3 separate regions of the Homo sapiens genome follow, and regions 2 and 3 are each linked to region 1. Evidence: promoter capture Hi-C in 16 types of primary human blood cells and fetal thymus (Javierre and others, 2016). All regions are on one chromosome and are shown on one strand. Each heading gives the region's core, a stretch centred on a gene start or on the middle of the fragment in contact. The rest is flanking DNA. Distances are from core to core; before and after follow the strand shown. Region 1 holds the start of TMEM168 (transmembrane protein 168). Region 2 overlaps PNPLA8 (patatin like domain 8, phospholipase A2). Region 3 has its middle 19 kb from the start of DNAJB9.

What was found. The method cuts DNA at HindIII sites, captures the fragments that hold promoters and counts their contacts. A CHiCAGO score of 5 or more calls a contact.
Region 2: a fragment that was not itself captured here is called in contact with the fragment with the promoter of TMEM168 in region 1 in 1 of 17 cell types (total B cells); the score reaches 7.6 in total B cells.
Region 3: a fragment that was not itself captured here is called in contact with the fragment with the promoter of TMEM168 in region 1 in 2 of 17 cell types (activated CD4 T cells and total CD4 T cells); the score reaches 5.7 in activated CD4 T cells.

Annotation. Positions count from the first base shown.
Region 1 is chr7:112,788,295-112,792,409 of GRCh38, reverse strand. It overlaps TMEM168 (transmembrane protein 168), which reads left to right and starts at 2,017. Exons shown (of 5, transcript NM_022484.6): 1 at 2,017-2,250. RefSeq lists an enhancer at 1,629-1,758. The HindIII fragment of the contact is 5,754 bases long and covers 896-4,115 here.
Region 2 is chr7:108,511,649-108,515,763 of GRCh38, reverse strand. It overlaps PNPLA8 (patatin like domain 8, phospholipase A2), which reads left to right. Exons shown (of 11, transcript NM_001256007.3): 3 at 190-1,328; 4 at 1,471-1,620. The coding sequence starts at 273. Among named protein-coding and RNA genes, the nearest start is that of PNPLA8, 12 kb to the left of the region's middle. The HindIII fragment of the contact is 2,356 bases long and covers 1,173-3,528 here.
Region 3 is chr7:108,586,656-108,590,770 of GRCh38, reverse strand. No RefSeq gene overlaps it. Among named protein-coding and RNA genes, the nearest start is that of DNAJB9, 19 kb to the right of the region's middle. The HindIII fragment of the contact is 6,518 bases long and covers 1-4,115 here.

The DNA.
Region 1 (4,115 bases), core at 768-3,267:
CCATGTTAGAGGAAGATGATGAAAAACCACTGATTTAGTGAGCTGGTCTTAGTGCTAAGCAACTGAATGCAGCTGTAGCTAATTTAAGCAGAAAGTAAGTTTACTAGAGGACGCTAAGTAGTTCAAAGGATAGCTGGAGATTGAGGCTTGCACCTACATGGCCAGAATCTACCTTGGCTGTTACCGGTGGAAGGTGTCCAGGTTCTTGGCATCTTGAACAAGGAATTAGACAAAACGCACAAACAAAGCAAGGAAGGAATGAAGCAACAAAAGCAGAGATTTATTGAAAATGAAAGTACACTCCACAGGGTGTGAAGAGCCGGAACATGGGGCTCAAGAGCGGGGCGGCCGGGTTATAGAATTTTCTGGGGTATAAACACCCTCTAGAGGTTTCCCATTGGCCACTTGGTGTACACCCCACGCAAATATAGTGGCCCACAATCAGTCTGATAGCGGAAAGCAACCAATCAGAGCCTGAAGCGAAGTTACAAAGGTTACACCCTATGCAAACATTTAATTAGTTATGGAAAGCAACCAATCCGAGGTACTTTCAATTTTCCGTCTGCCACGCAGAAAAGGGCGGTGGTGGGGGAGGGGGCCGGGTCCCTTTGTTACTTAGCTGTGGAAAGTTGGGGCTTTCCTTTTGATTTAGTTCTAGAAAGTCAGCATGAATCAGCCGTAAGTTCCTTGCCTCCAGACCCTATTGTCCTGCCTCACAGCTATGTAGTACAGAGTCTGTCACAGGCTACCCAGAAATGTACACAGAGACTGTTAACAGGCTACAGAACAGATTGGGAAAGGGCTCTGGGGTTGTGACCCTCACCAAGCACAGGCATCTTGCATCTCTGACATGTTAATGGTGGATGCCAGCACTCTCACTACTGCCTCGGAAGCTTACCTTGCTGTTAGGGATGGGTTCTCGATCTCTACACTTGCTATACTCCTACAGGTGACCTGGGAGTGTAGCTTTCTGTGCCTTTTTTGACTCATGGCTTCCAGCGGGTACACATGATTAGTTAAACAAGTGTTCAGCATTTCAGCGGCAGCCATTAGACTCTTAACTCAGGTGGGGAATTCTCCAAATACGGAAGGGGATTCAAATGGGGGGCATAATAAATGTATATAAATGTCCATTAAAGGCAAGTTGAGTTGGAAGTGATGACAATATATTTGAGTAGAAACATCTAGCAGGTAGTTGGAAATGTGGCACTCGTGTTCCCCAGAGAGCTAGTTACAGATTTGGGAAGTTGAGTTGTGATTGCTTTTAAAATCAGGAGTCTAGAGAGAATCTAACTCAAAATTTTCATCCACATATGCAGAATCTCAATCTGAGAGTTGTTCATTCCTATAGATGTGCTGGCCACACCAACCCCCAACATCTATTATGAAAATTAGGAAATTCACACTCTATTATGGAAAATAGGAAAAATATATAGATAATACATGCAAAACAAGTGGGAGGAGAGAACTACGGATCGTGGAGAGCCTATTGCATATTATTATTTTACAAATATTTAAGTGCCAACTATGTGTCAGGCACTATGCTAAGGTGATTTAATGTTGAGCAAAACCCGACATGTCCCTGCATTTGAGGAACTGAAAGGTCTGAGGGAGGGCCTAAGGAGCTTGGGCCTTAGCTGGTTACAAAGCCATATATTATGCCATATATATTAATGAGCAGCAACGCCTCCCGCAGTATTTACAGCCCACGCGTGGCAGTCCTGTCCACCCTGTCCCCGTTCGGTCCAGCCCGAGGCGGTGGCCTAGATGCTTGATGGGCACTGTCAGCCTGATCTTTGGTGGTCTTCCCGCTGTCTGTTCTCAGCTGCTGATTCCAGGTCCCAGGAGTCGACTTTGGCTTGAGGAAGGCAGGCGCCTTAGGTGGGGCAGTTGACACTCGCGCAGCGCCTTGCTCACCTGAGTGTGTGGCGGCGCGCGGGTTTGGGCGGGGAGGGGGCCGGGCCTCGGGAAGGAGGCGCGCCGCGCAGTTTGACCCCGGCGGCGTTCCGTACCGTCGCGGATTTCGGCGGCGGAAACATGGCGGTCGCGGCCGGGCCGGTAACGGAGAAAGTTTACGCCGACACTGGCCTGTATTAGCGCGTATGGCCTCGGGCCCTCGTTCCCCAAGGCGTGCCGCCTCCCTGTTCTCAGTCGCAGGCTGAAGCCTTGTCTGCTCTCCTCCTTTTTGGTTTGGTTTTGGAACTGACTCCGAGGGTTGGGAGAGCGCGTTGGTGGCGACGGCCGAGTCAGGTAGGGAGAAATGGGTGGACGGCAGGGCGGCGAGATCTAGGCATAGACACTGCCAGGGCTCCGCGTGGTCCGGACCCCAAGCTCCGCCCAGTCGGCCTCCCAGGGCCGGGGTAGGATACCTGCCTCTGGAGGAGTTGACAGTGGTGGTTGGAGATTGGAGGGTGTGGGAGCGCCTCTCCGTATTTCGCAAGGGTTCCCCCTCAACTGGGCGCCACGTTGTGGTCGCGTTCTCCGAGGCAGAGGATGGTGGAGAACAGCCAAGCTCCTTGTCGGACCTCCCACATCTCGCTAGAAGGAGGCCGAAAGGGAGAGAAATTGCTGTTGCTGCTCTAGTGCTGAGGAGTTTGATATTCTAGATGACATTTTCCTCGTATGAGATGGCTCAAAGAGTTATCAGTAATTCAGAACTGAAGCACTGAAATTCCCTGTTTTTTCAGTGTAGTTCTTTCAGCCTTGACACTTCTAGATGGGACAGAGTTTCTGAGTGAAAGATAATGCAAGTGATACGGTATGCCTCAAGCCATTCCCTAGAGGTAGGACATGGAGAGAGAATTGGTTTGGAAGAATTTGGGTGAATTAAGTAAAGACTGGTGGAAAGCTGAAATAGAAACCAAACATTCATGGACTCTCCCTTAGTTCTACTAGTTATTAGTTGTGGGATATAGCTAAGTTCTGTATTCTCTTTAGGCATTAGTAAGTGTCCAATGGTGACTATTGTTGTTAAATGTAGTTATTTCTTTATTAGTCTTTATTTTTCAACAAGTATTTATTGAATACCTTCTTGATGCCGGATTTTTGCTAGTCACTGGGTGTACAGTATTGAAGACAAACCCTCAGAGACCTTTTGATCTAGTGGGAAATGCAGACATGAAATAAGTGATGGTATGTAACAGAGAAAGTATGGGGGTCATGTAATGGGGAGGGGGCAGGGATAATCTCTTAAGAAAATGATTTATCTGAGACCTGAAGAGTTGGAATAAGCCAGGTGTGAGCACTGGGGTGGGGCCAGGAGGAGGAAAAGGAGTGTACCTGGCAAGGGAATAGCATTTGTGCAGTTTGTAATTGAAAGGTCAGTAAGGTTGGAAAATAAAGTGTGAGAGGAAAACTGGTAACAGATAAGGCAGGAGAGTTATTCAGGCCCAACACGGAGTGCCTTATAAGGCACTGTAAGGAGTTTTGACTTTATTGCTAAGGGTGATGGGACGCCATTGGAGCATTTTACATAGTGGAGTGCTAAATTTTGGTTTTAAAAAGTACACTTCTTAGAGAGGGCAAGAGTGGATACAGGGAAATGTTCAACATGATGGTGGCCAAAATTGGGATGGTGACCCTGGGGACGAGAAGTAGAAACATTTAAAAAATGTTTAGGAAGAATAGTAGACAGGACTTGGTGAGGATTAAATGTAGATGATGGTGGAGAGGAGGGTTAGAATAGTATGTAAGGTTTTATGAAATAATCAGACTCTGGCAGTGATTGGTTAGCTTTTCCCATATGCATATTGACTCCTCTATGGTCCATTTTCATCTACCTCTGGAATAATTGTCCATTGAATCATTAGTGACGGCAAACCGATTGAAAAGGAATGTAATGTTTTTCTGTTATTCTCTAACTCAGGCTGTCTTTTGAAGAAGATCAGAATGGGGAAGAGTTTTGTAAATTAGCCATTTAAAAACAATCTGCCATGTTGATTTTGGTCCATAGGAAGGTAACTGCATATATTGCATTATATGGATGCACTGTACTTCACTAATTTTTTTTTTACATGTTTACATTTACTTTGTTTCCAGGTATTTACCTCTGTTAACAGTGCAGAACAGAGCTGGTGCTTCATTTTCTATAGGTAGATTAATATATGTGTGCACTT
Region 2 (4,115 bases), core at 1,101-3,600, 4.3 Mb after region 1:
TACCTCTATACTGAAAGTGAATTATTTTCTATTAGCTTAAAAATGAATTTTCTATCAGCTATAATAGGAATATTTTGTCTGCTTTTTTTGAGACAGCTTGCTGAGTTTAGTCCAAATAGTCTTGTGTTTTCTGTTATACCCAATTTCAATTTTTAACTTGAATTCTAATTTTTTTTCTTGCCATTTCAGGTAAGACCATGAATTATGGCATTTCTTAAATGAAGCGTTCAAGAAGTGAGAGAATGTCATAGAAAATAAATGATTTTTAAGTTATGTCTATTAATCTGACTGTAGATATATATATTTACCTCCTTAGTAATGCAAGAAGTGTTTGTGGGAAGCAGAGAAGCAAGCAACTGTATTTCTTGTTCTCACCTAAGCATTACTGGAGGATAAGCCACATCAGTCTACAAAGAGGTTTTCATACAAACATAATAAGATGTAAATGGACCAAAAGTGAAGCACATTCTTGCAGTAAGCACTGTTACTCTCCAAGCAACCATGGTTTACATATTGGGATTTTGAAACTTAGCACTTCTGCTCCCAAGGGACTTACAAAAGTGAACATTTGTATGTCCCGTATTAAAAGTACTTTGAACTCTGTTTCAAAGGCTGTTTTTGGCAATCAAAATGAAATGATTTCACGTTTAGCTCAATTTAAGCCAAGTTCCCAAATTTTAAGAAAAGTATCGGATAGTGGCTGGTTAAAACAGAAAAACATCAAACAAGCCATCAAATCTCTGAAAAAATATAGTGACAAATCAGCAGAAAAGAGTCCTTTTCCAGAAGAGAAAAGTCACATTATAGACAAAGAAGAAGATATAGGTAAACGCAGTCTTTTTCATTACACAAGTTCTATAACCACAAAATTTGGAGACTCATTCTACTTTTTATCAAATCATATTAATTCATATTTCAAACGTAAGGAAAAAATGTCTCAACAAAAGGAAAATGAACATTTCCGGGACAAATCAGAACTTGAAGATAAAAAGGTAGAAGAGGGGAAATTAAGATCTCCAGATCCTGGCATCCTGGCTTATAAGCCAGGCTCAGAATCTGTACATACGGTGGACAAGCCTACAAGTCCTTCTGCGATACCTGATGTTCTTCAAGTTTCAACTAAACAAAGTATTGCTAACTTTCTTTCTCGTCCCACGGAAGGTGTACAAGCTTTAGTAGGTGGTTATATTGGTGGACTTGTCCCCAAATTAAAGTATGATTCAAAGAGTCAGTCAGAAGAACAGGAAGAGCCTGCTAAAACTGATCAGGCTGTCAGCAAAGACAGAAATGCAGAGGAGAAAAAGCGTTTATCTCTTCAGCGAGAAAAGGCAAGTTGTTCAGTGTGCTTTTCGGTTCTATTACTTTTTGTCAAATTTATAAGTTTTATTTCCTAATGAGAACTAAGAAACTTTCATTGTTCTTTAGAGCAGTTTTGTATTCTAATCATATCTATTTAATATGTCTTTGTAGATTATCGCAAGGGTGAGTATTGATAACAGGACCCGGGCATTAGTTCAGGCATTAAGAAGAACAACTGACCCAAAGCTCTGCATTACTAGGGTTGAAGAACTGACTTTTCATCTTCTAGAATTTCCTGAAGGAAAAGGAGTGGCTGTCAAGGTAATTTCTAATTTATTTAATCTAGTTTTGTCTTGGAATAGAAGTACTAAAAAAAATCTAAAATGGAGAAGGCAAAGCCTTTCATTTTTCCATTTGAATTTTGTGGTTTTTATTATACATGTGATGTGTATTCAGTAATTACCCTATTTATTTTGTGACATACATTATGCTAATCAATTCATTTTATTTTGTTAGCACCAATATGTATACTTTGAAATTAAACATTTATAAAATAGAAAATAATCAGTTTATTAGTTGAATTGCCTAACAGCTGCCAGATTTTTCTTTAGTGCAATGTAAATATTTATACTATGTAACTGTTCTTTTAAGATAGGAGACATAATTCATATGTGAGGCTGTTGTTTTTATTTCATGGTCCTTTCGTATTTGAAAGTCTAAAAATTTGAATGACCTTACTCATAATTGAATTAGTAATCATATTAAGTAAAACAATGAGCTTTTCTTTGCCTCAGTTTTTTCAACTATAAAATAATGAAGATAATTTAGACCCACTTAAATGGACTGTTTTCAGAGAAGTGCTATAAAATATGACTAATGTGATTGAGTCTCTTTACATCTATATTATTAAGATTATTTGTAATATTTAATGAAAAATTTGAAAATATCATAATGATAGATACTGCTTACATTTCATTAGAAATCTATTAGTGCTTATTTTTAGCTTGGCATTCAGAAAATTGTTTTAACTTAGAACACATTTATTCTACTTTTTAACAATTACCTTGTTGAAAAATTGTCTTTGAATAATGTACCCATCCTTACTTGTGTATTGTATAACACATACATTATTATAGGTAGCTTCACTATTTTATGGTCCTATAATTTGGGATTATATTTTATATTTATATAATCTTACATAAAAGATAAGATTCTCAAATATACATATGCTTTTAAGTATATTTCACATTTCAGTGATATACTGAAAGCAAAGATCTTAAATAGAATTACATACTGGCTTAGTCCATTTGGGCTGTCATAATAAAATACCTTAGCTTGGGTAATTTATAAACAACAGAAATTTATTTCTCATAGTTCTGGAGGCTGGGCAGTCCAAAATCAAGGCACCAACAATTTGATGTCTGGTGAGAGTCCCGTTCCTCCTAGACAGCAGCTTCTCATGACCTACTTAGATGGCAGAAGGGGCAAGGTGGCTCACTTCAACCTCTTTTACAAGGCCAGTTGTACTACTGATGGATTTCTGAGTAGTTTTCAGTTGCAGTTTAAATAGTCTTGCTAATTGAAACTCTGAGGACTCTTTTATCTTGCATAACTAATCCCAAATCTAAGGACCTTTCAATACTATGAAAAAATGTAATATAGGAATATATATTCAGATCAATTATGAATAAAAATCTAGGTAGTCTGAAAAAAGTTGTCACCCTTCCCTTAAATAATCATCTGAAAAACAGTGAACTGGACAAATTGCATATAACGTGTCAGCATGTACACTCTAGTGTGAACTTTTCCAGCTAAACTTTTTGTTATTATCAAGAGTTGAGCTTTTTAAAAATGATAGAATTTTTATAAAACATCTGTATCAATTTTACTTTTTTATGTGTCTACCATATTTAAGGTAGCTAAATACAGGGAATTATGTCTGATACGTAATGCCCTAAAAAAAAATGAGTTACTTATTTTGTATGCTACATTTATGGCAGCCACATTTAGGGAATTGTCTGTGATAATTTTTTCACTGTGATGAAGGTGGTCTCCTTTCATTATGTTTTTTAATTAAAAAGAAGAACTTTGACTGTTTAGAAAGAAGGCAGCACAAAGCATTGTAGGGAATTAGAAGAAAGAAAAGATAAGAAAATAAAAATAATATATTTTACCCTCAGATTACCACTGTAATGTATTAGAGTTTATTTGTGTTCATTGGATTAAGCTTCCTTAAGCTCTAATAGCAAACAACACCGAAATCTCAGTGACTTAACAAAACAGTTTTATTTCTGGCTCATGCAAAGTTAACTGTGGGTTTGGGTGACTCTTTGGCACAGTGAACCTCCGTGTGGTGGTTACTTAGATCCTGTCCTGTTGTCTGTATTTTAATTGAGTCTTCCTCTCTGATTTCTGTGGCAAGGAAATAATATTTCAGCAGAAGTTGCCACGGGTTTCTTCTACTCACAATCTGTTTATCCTGTCCGATTGCATGGGCCTGAAAAGTACAACCTTCTGTATGCTTGGAAGGGGAAGCAAACAGTGTATTGGTGAACATTAGTAATGTCTGCACAGTATTCCTTCAGAAATCATTCTATGCACATATATACCAAAATAAACTCATTCTGTATATGTTGTTTTATAATCTGGTTTTTTAGCATATAATGTATACCTTTCTATATCAGTAAATGTCCCTTTATCCTGTACCCAGTTTGAAAATGTTATTTATGTAACTGATTAGATCCAAATGAGGGTTCAGTCTAGATCACACATTGCATCTGACTATTTCTCCAAGTCACTTAAAATATAACGCAGTC
Region 3 (4,115 bases), core at 807-3,306, 4.2 Mb after region 1:
ACTGGTCTAAAGTCAAGGTGTCAGGAAGGCCCATTTTCCTTTCTAGAGACCATGGGAGAGAATTCATTTTCTTACCTTTTCCAGCTTCGTGAAGCTGGCTGCATTCCCCAGTTAGTGGCCCCTTCCTCCATCTTCAAAGCCAGCAAGGGCAGCTCCAGTCTTTCTCAGGATGATGCCATCTCCCAGAGATTCTAATTCTTCCGTCTCCCTCCTTCCCATTTAAAAACCCTTGTGATTACACTGGGTCCACATGGATAATCCAGAATAATCTCCTTATTTTGAAGCCATCTGATTAACAAACTTAATTCCATCTGCCACCTTAATTCCCCCTTGCCAGGTAACCCAACATATTCGCAGGTTCTAGGAATTAGGACATGGACATCTTTGGGGGATGATGATTTGTCTGCTACAAGCTCTATGATAGAAACCTCACATGGCAATCCTCTTCTAGTGCTTTCCAATCTCTTTTTTTACATCAGGGAATACAGTAAAAATGAAAAAAAAATTTACAGCACACTGAGGCAACTGGATAACCCTGTTAGGCCATGGCACAATATTTTGGGAGCCCTATACCCTACACTGACCACAGGATTGGTCACAGGCATTACTACTGCTCTTAAGGCTGAGGCACTTAAGGAACAAATCACAGGCATGCATGTGCCATTTCTGTGGAATCCTCCAGGGCAGCTGAGTGGGAGGATAGCCCTGCCATTCATTAATCAGACACCCTGCGTTCTTCCAACCTCAGGGGTTTTTTCTCTCCTCCTGGGCAGCAGTTTCTATCTTGTGATCTAAACATTAGCTTCCCTTGTGCTTCTATCTTTCTCCTTCCTTCTCTGGGGGAACTCAGTGTAACTCCTTGTTGCCCTTGACACTTGATAAAATGTCCATGTGAGTGGCAAGTGCTAGAATTCAATTCAAATTGGCTTAAGTGAAAAGGAGACTTTTTTGTCTCATATAACTGAAGTGTTCAAGGAAAGATGGTTTCAGGCACAGCTGGACCTAGGGCTAAATGGCTCTGAAATCCTCTATGAAGCTCTTTTCAGGTCCCATAAAGTAGCCATTGGTGATATCAGGTTCACATCAGTCTTTTCTGTTAGCAGTCCCAGCTGAAACATACTTTATAGATTGTCAAACATGAATTCATAGAGATTTCTTTTGACCTCCTATATGACCAATTTGAAAATATTCTAGAAGTGGAGGAAAAGACAGAATTGTTTTGTTTGTAACTAACAAATAGGGGAAATTTTCAGTATACCATTTATTATGGCTTGAAAATGAAATTTCAATTGCATGTCACTGTGCCAATACAAGCAGCTCAGAGGAATTGAGACAGGGAGGAGTTGCTCTTTTAAAGGTCCTCAGCTGGGCATGATGGCTCATGCCTGTAATCCCAGCACTCTGGGAGGTGGAGATGCAAGGGTTACTTGAGGCCAGGAATTCAAGACCAGCCTGGGCAACATAGTGAGACTCTGTCTCTACAAAAAAAAAAAAAAAAAGAACATAAAAATTAAAAAATTAGCCAAGTGTGGTGGCATATGCCTTGCAGTCCAGGCTGAGGCTGGAGGATGGCTTGAACCCAGGAGTTCAAGATTGCAGTGAGCTATGATCGTGATCATGCCACTGCCTGGCTGACCCTGTCTCTTAAAAAAAAAAAAAAGATAAATAAAAGTCCTTAAAAAATAAACTCACACAGAAGATGTCTACATAAAAAGAGTTCACACTTGATTTTAACTTTCTAACAAGGTAAAAGTCTTCTTTCTTTTAAGTTCCCCTCTGATCTCATAACTGAGGGGATGTGACCTAGTTTTCTAAGTATCTCAAGATCCACCAGTATTGATATATAAACTGATTTTGTTTCCTTCCAATAATAATTCCTTATAAGATAGTATCTCTGACAGTTTGGACAATGGCATTTGAACAGAAAATTATTTTCTCACACTAAAATATCTGGAAGAAAAATAATGATAGAAAAGTTATAGAAAAAGAGATGTTATCATTTGGGATTAAAAAAACATATTGTGAGGTGGGCACGGTGGCTCACGCCTGTAATCCCAGCACTTTGGGAGGCCAAGGCGGGTGGATCACCTGAGGCCAGGAGTTCGAGACCAGCCTGGCCAACATGGTGAAACCCTGTCTCTACTAAAAACACAAAAATTACCCAGGTGTGGTGGTGCACACCTGTAATCCCAGCTACTCAGGAGGCTGAGGCGGGAGAATCACTTGAACCCAGGAGGTGGAGGTTGCAGTGAGCCAAGATCACATCATTGCATTCCAGCCTGGGCTATAGTGCGAGACTCCATCTCAAAAAAAAAAAAAAAAAAAAATTTAAAAAAAAATTTAAAAAAAATTTGTGGATGACTAAACCTGTATCCCAATATCTTTATTAACAGATATCATTTATTTGGTATAAGGAAGATGTCCCAATGCAGATGAGTCTAGTTTATCATATAAGTAAAGGATTTTGTAACTTTTCAGAAAATCAAATTATGAGATATACACATATGACGTCGAATTTACTTATTCACTAAATAGTTATGGAAAATTTACCCTATACCAGTCACAGATATAGGCACTTGAGACACAGCAGTGGAAGATCCCTACCTCCAAGTAGCTTATATTCTATCAGGAGGAAACAGATAATAACATAATAAGTAATGAAATAAGGTGATAAGTGCTGTGTGAAAATAAAAACAGAGTAAGATAAAGGGATGGAGAGTGTGAGGGAGGAGGGACACAGTGTGGTATTAAATAGGGTGGCCAGAAAGGCCCCATTGAAGAGGTGACAGGTGAGCCAAGACTGGAAGAAGCTGAAGGGATTGGCTGTATAATCAAGAATGCTCCAAACAGAGGAACCAGCTAGTGCAAAGGCCCTAAAGAGAAAGCAAGCCTGGCGTGTTCCTGGAAGAGTGAGGATTCCTGTCTGGCTAGTACAGAATGAAGAAGGGTGTGATGGTTAATATTGAGTGTCAACTTGACTGGATTAAAGGATGCAAAGTATTGTTCCTGGATGTTCTGTGAGGGTGTTGCCAAAGGAGATTAACATTTGAGTCAGTGGACTGGGAGAGGCAGACCCATCCTCAATCTGGGTGGGCACCATCTAATCAGCTGCCAGTGCAGCTAGAATAAAGCAGGCAGGAGAAGACAGAAGAGTAGACTTGCTGAGTCTTCTGGCCTTCATCTTTCTCCTGTGCTGGATGCTTCCTGCCCTGGAACATAAGACTCCAAGTTCTTGAGCTTTAAGAGTCTTGGACTTATACCAGTGGTTTGCCAGGGGTTCTCGAGCCTTTGGCCACAGATTGATCCACCACTGGCTTCCTTGCTCCTCACCTTGCAGACAGACTATCATGGGACTTCACCTTGTGATCATGTGAGTCAATTCTCCTTAATAATCCCCTTATTTATAATATATACCCTATTAGTTCTGTTGCTCTAGAGAACCCTGGCTAATACAAAGGGGAAAAGCAGTCAAAGATAAAATCAGTGAGGTAAAGGGAAGGTAAGCTGATTGTGTAGGACTTCATAGACTATTGTAAATGATTTAGCTCTTACTGGGAATGGGGAGGGAGTAAATGGAAGGCTTTAGGCAGAAAGATAACAAGTTCTTATGTACCTTTAAAAAGAATAACTCTCATTGTTGGCTTGATAACAGACTAATAAGGGGTAGAGAATGAAAACTTTCTTTTACCTAATAATCCCTATGAAAGATGATGCTGGTACTAACATTGGAGTTGAAAGGAAGCTGTCAGATACTGAAAATACATTGAAGGCAAAGCCAGTGGGATTGCCTATGGAGTGTGAGTGCTAAGAGCATGAAAGAAATCAAGAATCACTCTGGGGTTTTAACCTAAACAACTGGAAGGATGGCTTTACAATCAGCTGAGCTGGAGCAGGTCAGAGTTGGAATATCCACAATACCACATTAGACATGTTAAGTGGACAGTTGGATATATGAATCTGCAGTTTTTAATATATGAATCTTGGCTAGAGATAAAAATTTGGAAGTGGCAGGCATGTTGATGGTTAAAACTATGGGATGAAAGAGTTCACCAAAGGAACGAGTATAACCAGGAGTAGAAGAGAATGGAAGTGATGAAAGGAGAAGAGGAAGGAAA